Linked DNA regions of Homo sapiens: regions 2 and 3 are each linked to region 1. The links are contacts of gene promoters, found by promoter capture Hi-C in human tissues and cell types (Jung and others, 2019). All regions are on one chromosome and are shown on one strand. Each heading gives the region's core, a stretch centred on a gene start or on the middle of the fragment in contact. The rest is flanking DNA. Distances are from core to core; before and after follow the strand shown.

Region 1 (4,746 bases), core at 915-3,414:
GTTTTTTCTTGAAAAACATTGGCTCCTTCAAGACAAGAGACTGAAACTCTTCAAAATAGTAATTTTGTGCATTTCTCTCACTGGTTTGAGTAACTTTAGTAAAAATTTAAAGTTACACATAATTAACCAAAGTGTGTGAGATAGGAATCAACGTATCAATGTTAATATCCTGATTGTGATATTATACAATGGTTTTGCAAAATGTTACCATGAGGAAGACTTGGCAAAGTGTAAAAGAGACCTCTCTGAATCATTTCTTAACAACTGCATGCCAGCCTACAATTACCTCTATTACAAATTTTAATTTAGAAATGTGATTGAGACAGAAATGGATGCAGGGATTCTGGCACATTTTCATAATAATCTGGCTTCACCCACATTTCCCAGTTATTTCTCCAGTAGTTTCTTGAATGACTCCCTTCCATCTGGAAGAGGATACTCCCAGCTTTTCAAACACACTGAACGAGCTCATTCACACCTGTGGGCTTTCCCCCCTCCTTTGAATTGTTCCCAGCTCCAGCCCACACCGCCCTGACTGGACCAAGCACAATACTGTCACTGAAACAGTTCTTAGCATGTCTAAAAGTCACTTGGCTAGTAGTTCATCCACTCGTCAACAAAATTTATTGAGTAACTGCTATATGTGTGGTATGGCTCTAGGCACTAGGGATAGAGTGAGTTGGAAACAATATTGAAATTAGTTTCTCTTCCCTGGTCTCTGGGAGTATATTCCAATGAGAGAGAGTAGAAGAAAACTAGCAAGAAACAAGGTAAAAAAAAAATCAATTCATGATGAGGGTTATGAAGGAAGTCATAGGTTAGAGGGGATAAAGTGACTTTATCTCAAGTGGTCAGGGGAGGCTTCCTAGGGGAGAGGACATTTGAGTTGTGACCTCAAGTGTAAGGATGCAGACAACATAGAAGATCCTGGGACAAAAAGCATTTCAGGCACAGAGAATAAGAAAGTTACCCTGTAACTGAATATAAATATTTGGTATGACTGTAAAATAATTAAACAGATGCTCATTTTTGTAGACTGTTTGCTCCTTATTTTAGGACCAAGCCTCCCATAGCCTGTTTCCCTCTATGAGAGACTGAGAACACCCTTAGGCTGGTCCAGATTTTACACTTTTCAGAGCAACCCCTTCCCCAACACACACGTGCACACTCTGGCACGGCCACCTGCATGCCAAGGGGTGACTGCAGGCTGATCTTCCAAGTGGCTCTCATCAGTAGCTGTACCCTTAATCCAGGGCTGTGTATAGGGAGATTTACATTTCTTCCTCGCTGTTGGGGCCGTCTGCCTGCTAGCGACGATTCTACACTAACGGCTACATAAATTACTGTCATTAAAGTTGGGTCCTTGGGTCCCCAGAAACCTAACTAGAGGCAAAGGAGGAACCAACTAAGAGAGGTCCAGGTAACAGAGCCCGGAGCGGGACGGTCATTTGTTGCAGGCCCCTGGGGTATGTGCCTGTCTATCGCGCACCGGGTCCCAGCAGCAGTGGTTACCGGCTGAGAAGGGCTGGGTTCCCAGGACGCTGCGGGTACCTCATGCTATCACCATAGCCGGGAATCCAGTTTTCTGGTTCCCCTCGTCTGTATTTGCCTAAGGCGACTTGCCGCCGTTCCTCTGTCCCCTAGGCAGGGAGAAGTCAGCTCTAGGACACCCTGCAAAACGCCTCGAGGGGTTATCTGCCCCTTCCCGGCCGCGTCCTGGCACCGTTTCCCCATCACCCGGAGGACTGAGCGCTGTCTCAGGGCGCCCTCTGTCTCTTCCAGGGGGCAGCCAAGACGACATGCCCTGCGTCTCAGGGACGCGGTACGAGCCCTGGTATTCCCCCCGCCACCTCACACACCCCCATCCGGGAGACCCACGTGCAGCTGGGCCCGGGCTGGCGCCGCACCTCGGGGTCTGCGCGTCTCCCCGGCGCGTTCCGGGCGCAGCCCCACGACACGGACCCCTGGCGGGGCGGCATCCGAGAAGTCGCAGGCGGAGAGGGGGCGTCCTGGAGGCCGGGCGCGGGGACGCTGCGGCCCGCGGCCACACAAAGGAGGCGGCGGGAAGGCGGGGCAAGGCGGGCCGGGGGCGGGGGCGGCAGGAAGGGGCGGGGGCCCGCGCGGCGCCGCCGATAAAGCCCCCGCCGCCGCGGCAGCCAGCTTGCGCTGTGGGGCTGCCCGGGCTGCGCGGCGTCTGCAGGCGCCACCGCTGCCTCTTTCCGGCTGTGACCCTCCTCGCCGCCGCCGCTTGGCTGCGTCCTCCGACTCCCCGCGCCGCCGAGACCAGGCTCCCGCTCCGGTTGCGGCCGCACCGCCCTCCGCGGCCGCCCCCTGGGGATCCAGCGAGCGCGGTGAGTACAGGCTGCGCGGTGAGTCCCGGGCGCGGCCGGCGCTGCCCTCGGCGGGGGACGCTCCCCGGGGCTCCGCGCGCCACCGGCCCTGCTCCCTGACCTTGCGCCCGGCCGGGAAGCTGCGGGGCCAGCGGGACCCTGGGGCGCCGACGTCGGGGAGCAGAGAACTTTCTCAGCCTCCCGCGGGCCGCCTTGGCCGGGGCTGGGTGCTCGCCGGGCATCCCGGTCCCGCCCGCCGGGAGCCCCGAGCGGGACCCGGGCAGGGCAAGGCGGGGCCGCCCCGGGGTGGCGTCCAGTGATACCCGCAGCTGGGAGCACCGGGGCCGGCGTGGCTCCTGCCCGGCCATCCGAGCCGGCCCTGACCCTGAACCTGAGGTTTCCAGCTGCTCGCCGGCAACCCCTACCCCGGACTTAGGCTGCGCGCCGCCGGATGGGGAGAGACTGGCGCACTCTTACTTGTTACCTCTGCCTGGGCAGAGGGAGGTGACGCGCGGTGTGGGGAAAGCCTTTAACTTGGCCTCTGGCAGCCGATTTAACCCGAGCGAGCAGGTCTTTGCTATTTTCATCATCTGTAGAAACGGGAGTTGCGAGGCGGATGAGTGACTGCAGGTAAAATGAAAGTACGGTACTCAGAAATTCTGGAAGGAATTAGGCATTTAATGTGTCCACAAACTGAGCGGGGAAGGAAGGCTTCTATTACATAAGACAGCACTCCACCTTCAGGTATTATGGAAGATGCTGTTGAAGGTTTTAGTGTTTTAATGAACGAAACACATTCTTTGTGTGTGTGTCTCTGGAGAAATCTCGAATGCTGCTGTCTTGCTTTGGCTACTTTGCAGGGGACGTTCTTATATTTAGCATCAGCATAAAAAGGTGTTCGAAGGTGTGACTTCCTCTTTCAAGCCAAGAAGCCGTTTATTTGTCTGAATTGTTGTGGAACAATATATGTGATAATTGTGTACTTTGAAGATTTTATATCAAAACTTGAGCACAGATAACTGGAAGAATTGTCAACATTGCTAATTTGTATATCCTAAACCACACTTCGAAAATTGAAGACAGTTTCAACACTATCTGAAGGTCTAAATCAGTACTTATTTGCTATTTGCAGTATTTCAATAGAAAAATTTTTGGCTATGCAAATGAAGGTACTAACCTGAGTAATCTAAGGTTTCTTTTAACCCCCAAATTTTGATTCTTTGTTAAAATAATGTTTGAAAATATCGTACCATGCAGGGCAATTACTGAAGGTCATGAAAATGTCATCGTATTTTATTCTAAAAACAAAAATGAATCTATGCAGAAAATTTCCGTGTCCCATGAACTTCATATTAGTTTAATTTTAAAAGTACTGTCTCCAAAAAAAGCTAATTTTCACTTCCACACAAGGGTGATTAAATACCAGTCAGAGATTGTTTGAGGTGGTAGAGTTGGAAATGAGGTGGTGACCTGGCCACGTCCCTGGGTGCATCTCAGCCTTGCTGTCCTCTTCCAGCCAGTTCTTTTCCCATCGCATGGGGACTTTGGCTCTTGGGCTATTTCTCCTCCTCTAGACCTAAAGTCCATGTGGGGGACGCTCTAGATGCGCACTTCCTTGACTGTCTCAAATCCAGTGTCTTCCATGTACTCCAGCTACCAAGTCCTCTAAGTACCTCCAAGTCTTGCCCTCTCTTGAGATGCTCAACTTCTGAAAACTCTTAGTGCCTCCAACCCGCAAGCTCCTTCCTTCCGGGTTGCAAACCGGACTCCCACTGTAATCTTCAATGCAAGCGATCTCCAATGCTTTTCCTCTTGCGGGTTTGGCAGGTGACTTTGTAGCCCATTCTACCAGGAGAATAGAGGTCATAAGTATCTCCTCACGTCCTCCCCCATCTCCCCTGTACAGACTTTTCTGTGTTTACCCAGTCATCCAATAAATCTTCTTAAGCATCTACTGTGTCTGGGTACTTTGTTGGATACTCATAGGTGGTAAATAGAGCAGATCCTTGCTCGCTTGAAACTGTCATTCTTGTGGGAGAAAACCAACTAAAAGCAAACATAATATGTTGTAAAATGTATGATAAATGAATAAGGTAGAATTATAAAGAAAAATCAAGTTAGACTGAGAACTTAGAGAAATATAGAGAGATGGCCTCCTTGGGGCAGTGACTAATGTCTCCAGCTGTGTCCTGAATCCCAACTCCCAGTGCCTCTCTCTCCTTGTGAGTGTTACTCCCTTTTCTTACTTTTATCTTCAGTCTCTCCCTGTGAGCTTTTTTCTTTTTTAGTAGTATTTTAAGAATGCCTTAACCTCCCTTGTCCCTGCATCCTCAGCTCACCTGTAGTGACAACCACGTCTCTCCAGGCTTCTTAAACTGGTCTGCCCTTCCTGTTCAGCTCTTTGCAAGCTGGCCAG
Region 2 (4,746 bases), core at 886-3,385, 200 kb before region 1:
TAAACCATAAATATGTATATTTGAGAAGTTCAGCAAACCCCAGGAAAATAACTTGAAGAAAAATGTAAGGTACATCATAACCATATTGCTGAACACTAGTGAGAAAGATAAATCTTAACAGCAGCCAGAGGAAAAAAGATACATAACAGAAACAGAAACAAGGTTAAGGATGATGGCAAATTCTCACCAGAAACAATTCAAACCAGAAGACAGTGCACTTTGTTTAATGTACTGAAAGAAAAAAGTATGTCAACTTAGAATTCTGTACCCAGTGAAATTATCTTCCAAAAATCAAGGCAAAACAAAAACATCTTAAGACACAAAAACTGAAAGAAGTAATCACCAGCAGACCAACAATAAATAAATGTTGAAGCAATCCTTCACGCAGAATAAAAATGATACCAAATGAAAATCTGATCTGAATAAAAAAATGTAAACAAAGAACACTAAAAATGGTAACAAAAGAACACTAAATCCAATATTTATGAGAATGAAGATGAAAGTCATTTTTAAATTATTGAAGACTTTTTAAAAGATAATTGTTGGCTGGGCGCATGGCTCATGCCTATAATCCCAGAGCTTTGGGAGGCCGAGGCGGATGGATCACAAGATCAAGAGATTGAGACCATCCTGGCCAACATGGTGAAACCCCATCTCTACTAAAAATACAAAAATTAGCCAGGCATGGTGGCGCCTGCCTATAATTCCAGCTACTTGAGAGGCTGAGGCAGGAGAATCGCTTGAACCCGGGAGGCGGAGGTTGCAGTGAGACAAGATGGCGCCACTGCACTCCAGCCTGGGGAGGGAGCGAGACTCCATCTCAAAAAATAAAAAATAAATAAAAATAACTGTCTAGAGAAAAAATAATAAAATAATAACAATATATGTGAAGCTGTTATATGTTATATACATAGGAGAAAAATGTATGACAAAGATAGCACAAAGGCCAGGAGGGGAGAAATATTCTAAATTTCTCATACAATATGTGAAGTAAAGGACGTATACTATAAATCTTAAAACAATTACTGTAACAACACAAGAAAGTTACAGCTAATAAGCCAACAAAGGGGATTAAATTGAATCGTTAGAAATAATGAGTGCAATAGAAGAGAGGAAAAAGAGGAAAAATGACAGAAGGAAAAAATAGAAAACAAGTGCAAGATGGTAGATTCAAACCTCAACTATATCAATCATAATATTAAATGTAGGTGGTATAGCACCAGAATGAAGAGGCAGAGATTGTCAGATAGGATTAAAAAGTAAGGCCCAACTTAGTCCAACAAGAACACTTAATGATTCTAAATATATATGTACCCAACATTGCAGCACCCAGATTTATAAAACAAGTTCTTAGAGATTTATGAAGAGATTTAGTCAACCGCACAATAATACTGCAGGACTTTGACACTGCACTGACAGTGTTAGACAGACCATTGAGGCAGAAAACTAACAAAGATATTCTAAGCTTAAAGTTGACATGACCAATTGAACCTAATAGACATCTACAGAGCACTCCACCCCACAACAAAATATACATCCTCCTCATTTGCACACAGCACATACTCTAAGACTGACCACAAGTTTGTTTACAAAGCAAGTCTAAACAAATTCAAAAAAACAGAAATCGTATCAAACACACTCTCAGACCATGGCACAAGAAAAATAGAAATCAATAGCAAGAAGATCCATCAAAACCATACAATAACATGGAAGTTAAACAACTTGCTCCTGAATGACTTTTCAGAATACAATTAAGGCAGAATTTTAAAAAATTCTTTGAATCTAATGAAAACAGACACACAACATACCAGAATCTTTGGGACACGACTAAAATGGTGCTAAGAGGAAAGTTTATAGTGCTAAACACTTACATCAAGAAGTTAGAAAGATCTCAAATTAGCAACCTAACATCACACCTAGAGTAACTAGCAAACCAAGAGCAAACCAATCCCAAAACTAGCAGCAGAAAAAAAAAAATCATAACTAAACTGAATGAAACTGAGATGTAAAAATAGATACAAAAGCTCAACAAAACCAAAAGTTAGCCATTCAAAAGAGTAAACAACATTGATAGACCACTAGCTATATTAATAAAGAAAAAACAGAGGAGATCTACATAAACACTATCAGAAATGGCAAAGACAACTTTACAACTGACCCCCCAAAAATACAAAAGATCCTCAGAGATTATTATAAACACCCCTATGCACACAAACTAGAACACCTAAAAGAAATGGACAAATTTCTGTAAACACACAGTCTCCCAAGATCGAACCAGGAAGAAATTAAAATCCTGAACAGATCAATAGTAAATTTTGAAACTGAATCTGTAATAAAAGGCCTACCAAACAAAAAAGCCCTGAGCCAGACGGATTCACAACTGAATTCTGCCAGACATACAAGGAGCTAGTACCAATCCTACTAAAACTATTCAAAAAAATTGAGGGGGAAGAACTCTTCCCTAACTTATTCTATGAAGCCAGCATCATTCTAATACCAAAGCTTGGTAGAGACATAACGAAAAAAGAAACCTTCAGGCCAATATCTCTGATGAACATAGATGCAAAAATCTTTAACAAAATACTAGCAAACCAAATCCAGCAGCATATCAAATAGTTAATTCACCACAATCAAGTAGGCTTTATCCCTGGGATGCAAGGTTGGTTCGACACACACAAACCAGTGTGATTCACCATATAAAGAGAATTAAAAACAAAGATCACATGATCATCTCAAAAGATGCAAAAAGGCTTTCAATAAAATTCAACATCCATTTATGTTAAAAACCCTCAACAAATTAGGCATCAAAGGAACATACCTCAAAATAGTAAGAGCCATCTATGACAAACCCACAGCTAACATCATACTCAGAGACTATTATGAGATGTAAAATAATACTGGGGGAATGGCAAAAGCTGGAAGCATTCCCTTTGAGAACTGGAACAAGACAAGGATGCCCTTTCTCACCACTCCTATTCAACATAGTACTTGAAAGTCCTAGCCAGAACAGACAAAAGAAAGAAATGAAAGGCATCCAAGTAGGAAGAGAGGAAGTCAAACTATCTTTGCAGATGATATGATTCTATACCTAGAAAACCCTGCAGACTCCACCAGAAAGCTTATAAAACTGATAAACAACTTCAGTAAAATTTCTGGATACACAATCAATATGTAAAAATCAGTAGGATTTCTTTTTTTTCTTTTCTTTTCTTTCTTTTTTGAGATGGAGTTTCACTCTGTTGCCCAGGCTGGAGTGCAATGGCGAGATCTCGGCTCACTGCAACCTCCGCCTCCTGGGTTCAAGGGATTCTTCTGCTTCATCCTCCCAAGTAGGTGGGATTACAGGCATGTGCCACCATGCCTGGCTATTTTTTTTCTGTCTTTTTAGTAGAGACGGGGTTTCTCCATGTTGGTCAGGCTGGTCTCGAACTTCTGACCTCAGGTGATCTGCCCCCTTTGGCCTCCCAAAGTGCTGGGATTATAGGTATGAGCCACTGTGCCCGGCCCAATCAGTAGGATTTCTATACACCAATGACATTCAAGCTCAGAGCCAAATCAAGAATGCTAACCCATTCACAGTAGCCACAAAAATATAAAATACCTAGGAATACAGCTTACCAAGGAGGTGAAAGATCTCTACAATGAGAATTATAAAACATACTGAAAGAAATCTGGGATGACATGAATAAATGGAAAAATATTCCATGTTCATTCATCGAAAAAATCAATGTTGTTAAAATGGCCATACTACTCAAAGCAATTTAAAGATTCAATGCTATTCCCATCAAACTACCAATGACATATTCATAGAATTAGATAAAACTATTCTAAAATTTTAATGGAACCAAAAAAGCCCAAATATCCAAGGCAATCCTAAGCAAAAATAAAAAATTTGGAGCCACCACACTACCTGATTTCAAACTATACTACAAGGCTACAATAACCAAAACATCATGGTACTAGTACAAAAACAGACCAATAGAACAAGACAGAGAAAACAGAAAGTCACACACCTCTAACTGGCTGATCTTTGACAAAGTCAACAATAACAAGCATTGGGGAAAGGATTCAATAAATGGTGCTAGGATAACTGGCTAGTCGTATACAGAAGATTGAAACTGGACCCCTTCCCTACACCGTATAAAAAAATTAACTCAAGATGGATTAAAGACTTAAATGTAAGATGTAAAACAATAAAAACCCTAGAAGAAAACCTAGGAAATACCATTCTGGACATTGGCCTTGGTAAATAATTTATGACTAAGTCCCCAAAAGCAACTGCAACAAAAACAAAAATTGACAAGTGGGACATAATTAAACTAGAGAACTTCTGCATAGAAAAATAAACTATCAAGAGAGCAGACAGACAACCTACAGAATGGGAGTAAATATTTGCAAACTATACATTCATCAAAGATGTAATATCCACAATCTAAAAGAACCTTAAATCAGCAAGCAAAAACCAAATAACTCCATTTAAAAAATGGGCAAAGAGCATAAACAGACATTTCTCAAAGAAGAGATACATGCTGCCAAAAAATATATGAAAAATGCTCATCATCCCTACTTATTAGAGAAATGCAGATAAAAACCACAATGGGATGCCATCTCACATCAATTGAAAGGCTATTATTAAAAATTCAAAAAACAACAAATGCTGGTGAAGCTGCAAAGAAAAGGGAACACGTATACGCTACTGTTGGGAATGTAAATGAGTTTAGCCACTGTGGAAAGCAGAATGGAGAT
Region 3 (4,746 bases), core at 600-3,099, 180 kb before region 1:
GAACAGTTTTAAAATCACTAGTCTGGATAGTGGTTTCCAAATTTTTCTTCTGTGCTTACTACTCTCCCATTATCAAAAGGCTTATTATGCCCCTTGCCATGTCATAAAACCACTTCAAACCCTTTTAACATAGTCTATGGTTGATGATTGTCAAACTTTACAGATCGGGGGGTTTTTAGAATTAAATTTTGAATTATGTGTTATACACGCTTTCCTAATCTTTCTATATTCCTTATGGACTGTCAGGCCTCTGAGCCCAATCTAAGCCATCATATCCCCTGTGACCTGCACGTATACATCCAGATGGCCTGAAGTAACTGAAGAATCACAAAAGAAGTGAAAATAGTCTGTTCCTGCCTTAACTGATGACATTCCACCACAAAAGAAGTGAAAATGGCCAGTCCCTGCCTTAACTGATGACATTACCTTGTGAAATTCCTTCTCCTGGCTCATCCTGGCTCAAAAGCTCCCCCACTGAGCACCTTGTGACCCCCCACCCCTGCTAGCCAGAGAACAACCCCCTTTGACTGTAATCTTCCACTACCCACCCAAATCTTATAAAACAGCCCTGCCCCTATCTCCCTTCGCTGACTCTCTTTTCAGACTCAGCCTGCCTGCACCCAGGTGATTCAAAAGCTTTATTGCTCACACAAAGCCTGTCTGGTGGTCTCATCACACGGAAATGGACTAGTTGACTCCCCATGAGAAAAGAGCAGGTGACTGCTCATCCACTGAGAAAACAGATATTTCACATTTGAGACCGGAGGGCTGCTAGGCCCAGGTGAGTATCTGACCCTGTGTTCCATTCATTTGTTTCTCATCCTGACCACTAGTAGAGAGCCCTGTTATTCTGCTGTTCCGGGAATCCAATTTGGTTTTTCAGTCCCTCAGCTGCTGGGGACTCCAACTGTCATTATAAGTGTATCCTCACTTGTTATGAGTTGAATTGTGTCCCTTCAAGATACATGTATTGAAGCCCTAGCCTCCAGTGCCTCCGAGTGTGACTCCTGTGTATTAGAAATGGGTCTTTAAAGAGATTATTAAGATGATCCCATTAGGGTAGGCCCTAATCTGATATGGCTGGTGTCCCTATAAGAAAAGGCAATTTGGACACCAGGGACCAACAGGGATGCGTGCACAAAGAGGAAAGACCACATGAGGAAAGAGAGAAACATCTGCAAGTCAGGGAGACAGGCCTTAGAAGAAACCAGTCCTTCCCACACCTTGATCTTGGGCTTCAGCCTCCAGAACTGAGAAAACAAATTTTTGGTGTTTAAATCACTCCATCTGTGAGAATTCATTACGGTGGCCTGAGCCTACTAATACATTATACTAGGAAACCAGCTTTAGTTCTTCAACTGTCTGTAATTTCTGGTTTTCTTAAATGCTAAGAAACAGAAAATTGCCTCTCACATTTCTCATTAAAAACTACTGCTTGGCTCTCCATCTTTGACGTGTAGTGTCAAGAATGAGCCTTCATTGTCTGCAAGTGTTTGTGATACCTGATTTATCAATGCATGTTGCTATTGGGTAGAGGATCATCTTGCTCTCATAGCTAATACTGATCAGGGAGAGAGTCATGGTCTGACTAAGTGTACCCAAGTACACTTAGCAGGTTAGTCCTTAGTCCTGGGTGCTTAGGAAACAATGACTAGCAGCCCAATTTCTCTTTCAGTCTCCCTCTCTCTCTCTCTGTGTGTGTCTGTGCGTGTGTGTGTGTCCTCACAAAGTTCCAGCAGCATTGCCTTGGGGATAGGAGTACAATCGCAATACTCTGAGATGCTAGCATGTCATGAAGGAAGGACAGAGCCACTAGTCAGAAGCCTAGATAGAGACTGTGCAAAGAGGAAGTAAACAGGGGCTTGTTAAAGAGATAGATGGGGCTGGGCGTGGTGTCTCACGCCTGTAATTCCAGCACTTTGGGGAAGCAGGCGGACCACTCAAGGTCAGGAGTTCGAGACCAGTCTGGCCAACATGGTGAAACCCTGTCTTTACCAAAAATACAAAAATTAGCCAGGTATGGTGGCACACACCTGTAGTCCCAGCTACTCAGGAGGCTGAGGCTGGAGAATTGCGTGAACCTGGGATGTGGAGGTTGCAGTGAGCTGAGATCGCACCACTGCACTCCAGCCTGGGCAACAGAGGGAGACTCCATCTAAAAAAAAAGAAAAAAGAGAGAGAGATAGATGGGGAAAAAGTCATTGGCCAAAGTCACAGCCTTACCTTCACTAGAAATCCATGAGCATCAGGCTGGAAGAGTTTACCTGGAGAGTGGGAAGAAAACGGATTGGAAAAACAAGAGAATAGCGAACCATGCAAGGATTATTCTCAGGTTGGTTAGTGACTGCAGCATTTTATTTTAGGCGTCCTGGCCTCACAATAAATTGTTTTTAGTATAAGTATGCCCCATGATATATTTGGGACATGCTTATACTAAAATTATTTGTTGTTCATCTGAAATTCAAATTTAACTGAGCATCCTAAGTTTTACATGGCAATCTTACCCAAGAGCTGATTCTCCACATAGCCAGAGAAATCTTCATGAAATCATGCAACTTCGAAGAGCCAAGCCTTTCATTCTCCCTCAAATTCAAGGTCCAAATCTTTGCCATGGTCTGCAAGGCTGGTCATGCTCATCCCCCCAACCTATCTCTTACCACTCTCTGCCTTGCCTATTACAGTCTTTGCTCAAAAGTCACCTACTGGATAAGGCCTTTCCTAGTGACCTTCTCTAAAATAGCCGGCCTCACCTGATAAGATCTATGCCTTTATTCATAGCACAAATGACTCGTGAAATGTGATGTGCCCATTTGTTATTGGATATCTTCCTTATCAGAATGTAAGCTCTGCAGGCTAAGTCTGCATTTCGCATTTCTTTTGCTTCCGTATTCTCAGCATTTGGAGCTCTACCTGACAGATGATACATTCTTAACAAAGAGTTGTGGAAAGAATAATTGAACCAGGATTCCATAATCAATATGCAGCAAAACTTAGCACATTGGTGCCAACTAGCACTTAGTAAGCTGGAATCTGCCTATGATTTTTAAGTGAATCAAGTAAAAATAATTCTAAAGATTATTAATGTTTCTAGCCTCCTTGGAGAATCAACAAAAACAAGAGTTAAGAAACTTTAGCTGGAAAAACAGAACTACTATTCAACCCAGCGATCCCATTACTGGGGATATACCCAAAGAAATATAAATTGTTCTATCATAAACACACATGCATATGTATGTTCATTGCAGCATTATTCACAATAGTAAAGACGTGGAATCAACCTAAATGCCCATCAATGACAGATTGAATAAAGAAAATGTGATGTATACACACCATGGAATACTATGAAGCCATAAAAAAAAGAATGAGATCATGTCCTTTGCAGAAACATGGATGGAGCTGGAGGACATTATCCTTAGCAAACTAGCACATGGATGGAAAACGAAATACTACATGTTCTCACTCACAAGTGGGAACTAAATTATGAGAACACATGGACACTAAGGGGGGAACAATAGACACTGGGGCCTCCCTGAGGGTAGAGGGTGGGAGGAGGGACAGGATCAGGGAAAATAATGGGTACTATGCTTAGTACCTGGGTGATGAAATAATCTGTACAACGAACCCCCTTGACATGCAGTTTACCTGTATAACAAACCTGCACATGTACTCGTGAACTTAAAAGTTTAATAAAAAAAGAAACTAGTTGGAGAAATGAGTAAGAAGGACTGAACAGAGCATTACATTGTTGATGTCCAATCACTCTGTTGAATGCATATAAAATTTCTTATTTAAACGTGTTTGCATTTAAAAAAACCCTTGCTTGTTTCTTCATTATGTTAATTTGTTCCAACTCCACATTTTATAATAGAGCTTTCTTACATTTCCATAAATAGGGATAAATATAAGAAATATTTCTTATATTTCCATATGGATAGCTCAAAGTGTACTTTTTTTTTCTTCAGTCAGCCCAATTTTTCTGAGCTTATGTGTCTTTTAATGCACTCCTTTCTTCTTCGTCTCCTGGGTGGGAAGACATTACATTTTAACTTTTAAAAGTTAGAAGAAATACACAAAAATAGCTGTAAGAGTCCAGTGGAAAATGGAAATATAAGAAATATTAAAATCTATAATTCGCAAAGTAACCACAACTCTCATCTTTAAATGAAAGGAGGAAATTCAAAGGCCCAGTCAAAGCAAAATTTAGCAGTCTTTTGGGTAATACATTGCAGAGAGCCTGCGGAACCGAAATCAAGATGAACCTTTGAAATGCAGGAAGTCTGGTCCTATCCATTTTGCATTCTTGTCTTGGAGCAATCGACTGTAACCTTCAAAGTATAATGAATGAATTGTGTTGCATCACAGAGAGGGTGGGAGTGGAGGGAGGAGGGAAGATTTAGGGGAAATGTCAGACTTGAGTGGGAGCTAAAAGCCTGTGATTGCATTCATTTGCTTCATACAGCTGAGGACGGCAAGCAAATGGAGCTGGGATACACTGAAAGAGATGGAGAATTACATATTTTTTCTTAATTAAATGCTTCTTGTGTTTTCCTTCCTGGCCTTCAATGGTACTTATTTTTCCCTACTTGTATTAAAGCAGCGTGACATTCTCTATAGGGGGAAAATACAGAGTTTCTTTTGGTTGTATGGAAATATTTACTGGCAGCAGACAAGAATATGTTTCTCCAAAGGGAAGGCTGCATTTGTCAAAGATTTGCTTGGATTCTGCCTTCCTTGCTGGGAATAGTT

Evidence for each region. The method cuts DNA at HindIII sites, captures the fragments that hold promoters and counts their contacts. A contact is called where the count stands out against the background at its distance.
Region 2: a fragment that was not itself captured here is called in contact with the fragment with the promoter of SERPINE2 in region 1 in 3 of the 25 tissues and cell types used here (H1 embryonic stem cells, heart right ventricle and small bowel).
Region 3: a fragment that was not itself captured here is called in contact with the fragment with the promoter of SERPINE2 in region 1 in 1 of the 25 tissues and cell types used here (mesendoderm cells).

The regions. Positions count from the first base shown.
Region 1 is chr2:224,036,704-224,041,449 of GRCh38, reverse strand. It overlaps SERPINE2 (serpin family E member 2), which reads left to right and starts at 2,164. Exons shown (of 9, transcript NM_001136528.2): 1 at 2,164-2,351. LOC124907991 (a long non-coding RNA gene) reads right to left here and starts at 2,048. Exons shown (of 2, transcript XR_007088103.1): 1 at 1,908-2,048. RefSeq lists a silencer at 1,704-1,998. The HindIII fragment of the contact is 16,007 bases long and covers 1-4,746 here.
Region 2 is chr2:224,231,836-224,236,581 of GRCh38, reverse strand. No RefSeq gene overlaps it. Among named protein-coding and RNA genes, the nearest start is that of FAM124B, 170 kb to the left of the region's middle. The HindIII fragment of the contact is 4,499 bases long and covers 1-4,384 here.
Region 3 is chr2:224,211,630-224,216,375 of GRCh38, reverse strand. No RefSeq gene overlaps it. Among named protein-coding and RNA genes, the nearest start is that of SERPINE2, 170 kb to the right of the region's middle. RefSeq lists enhancers at 71-848, 849-1,625, 1,626-2,403. The HindIII fragment of the contact is 5,701 bases long and covers 1-4,699 here.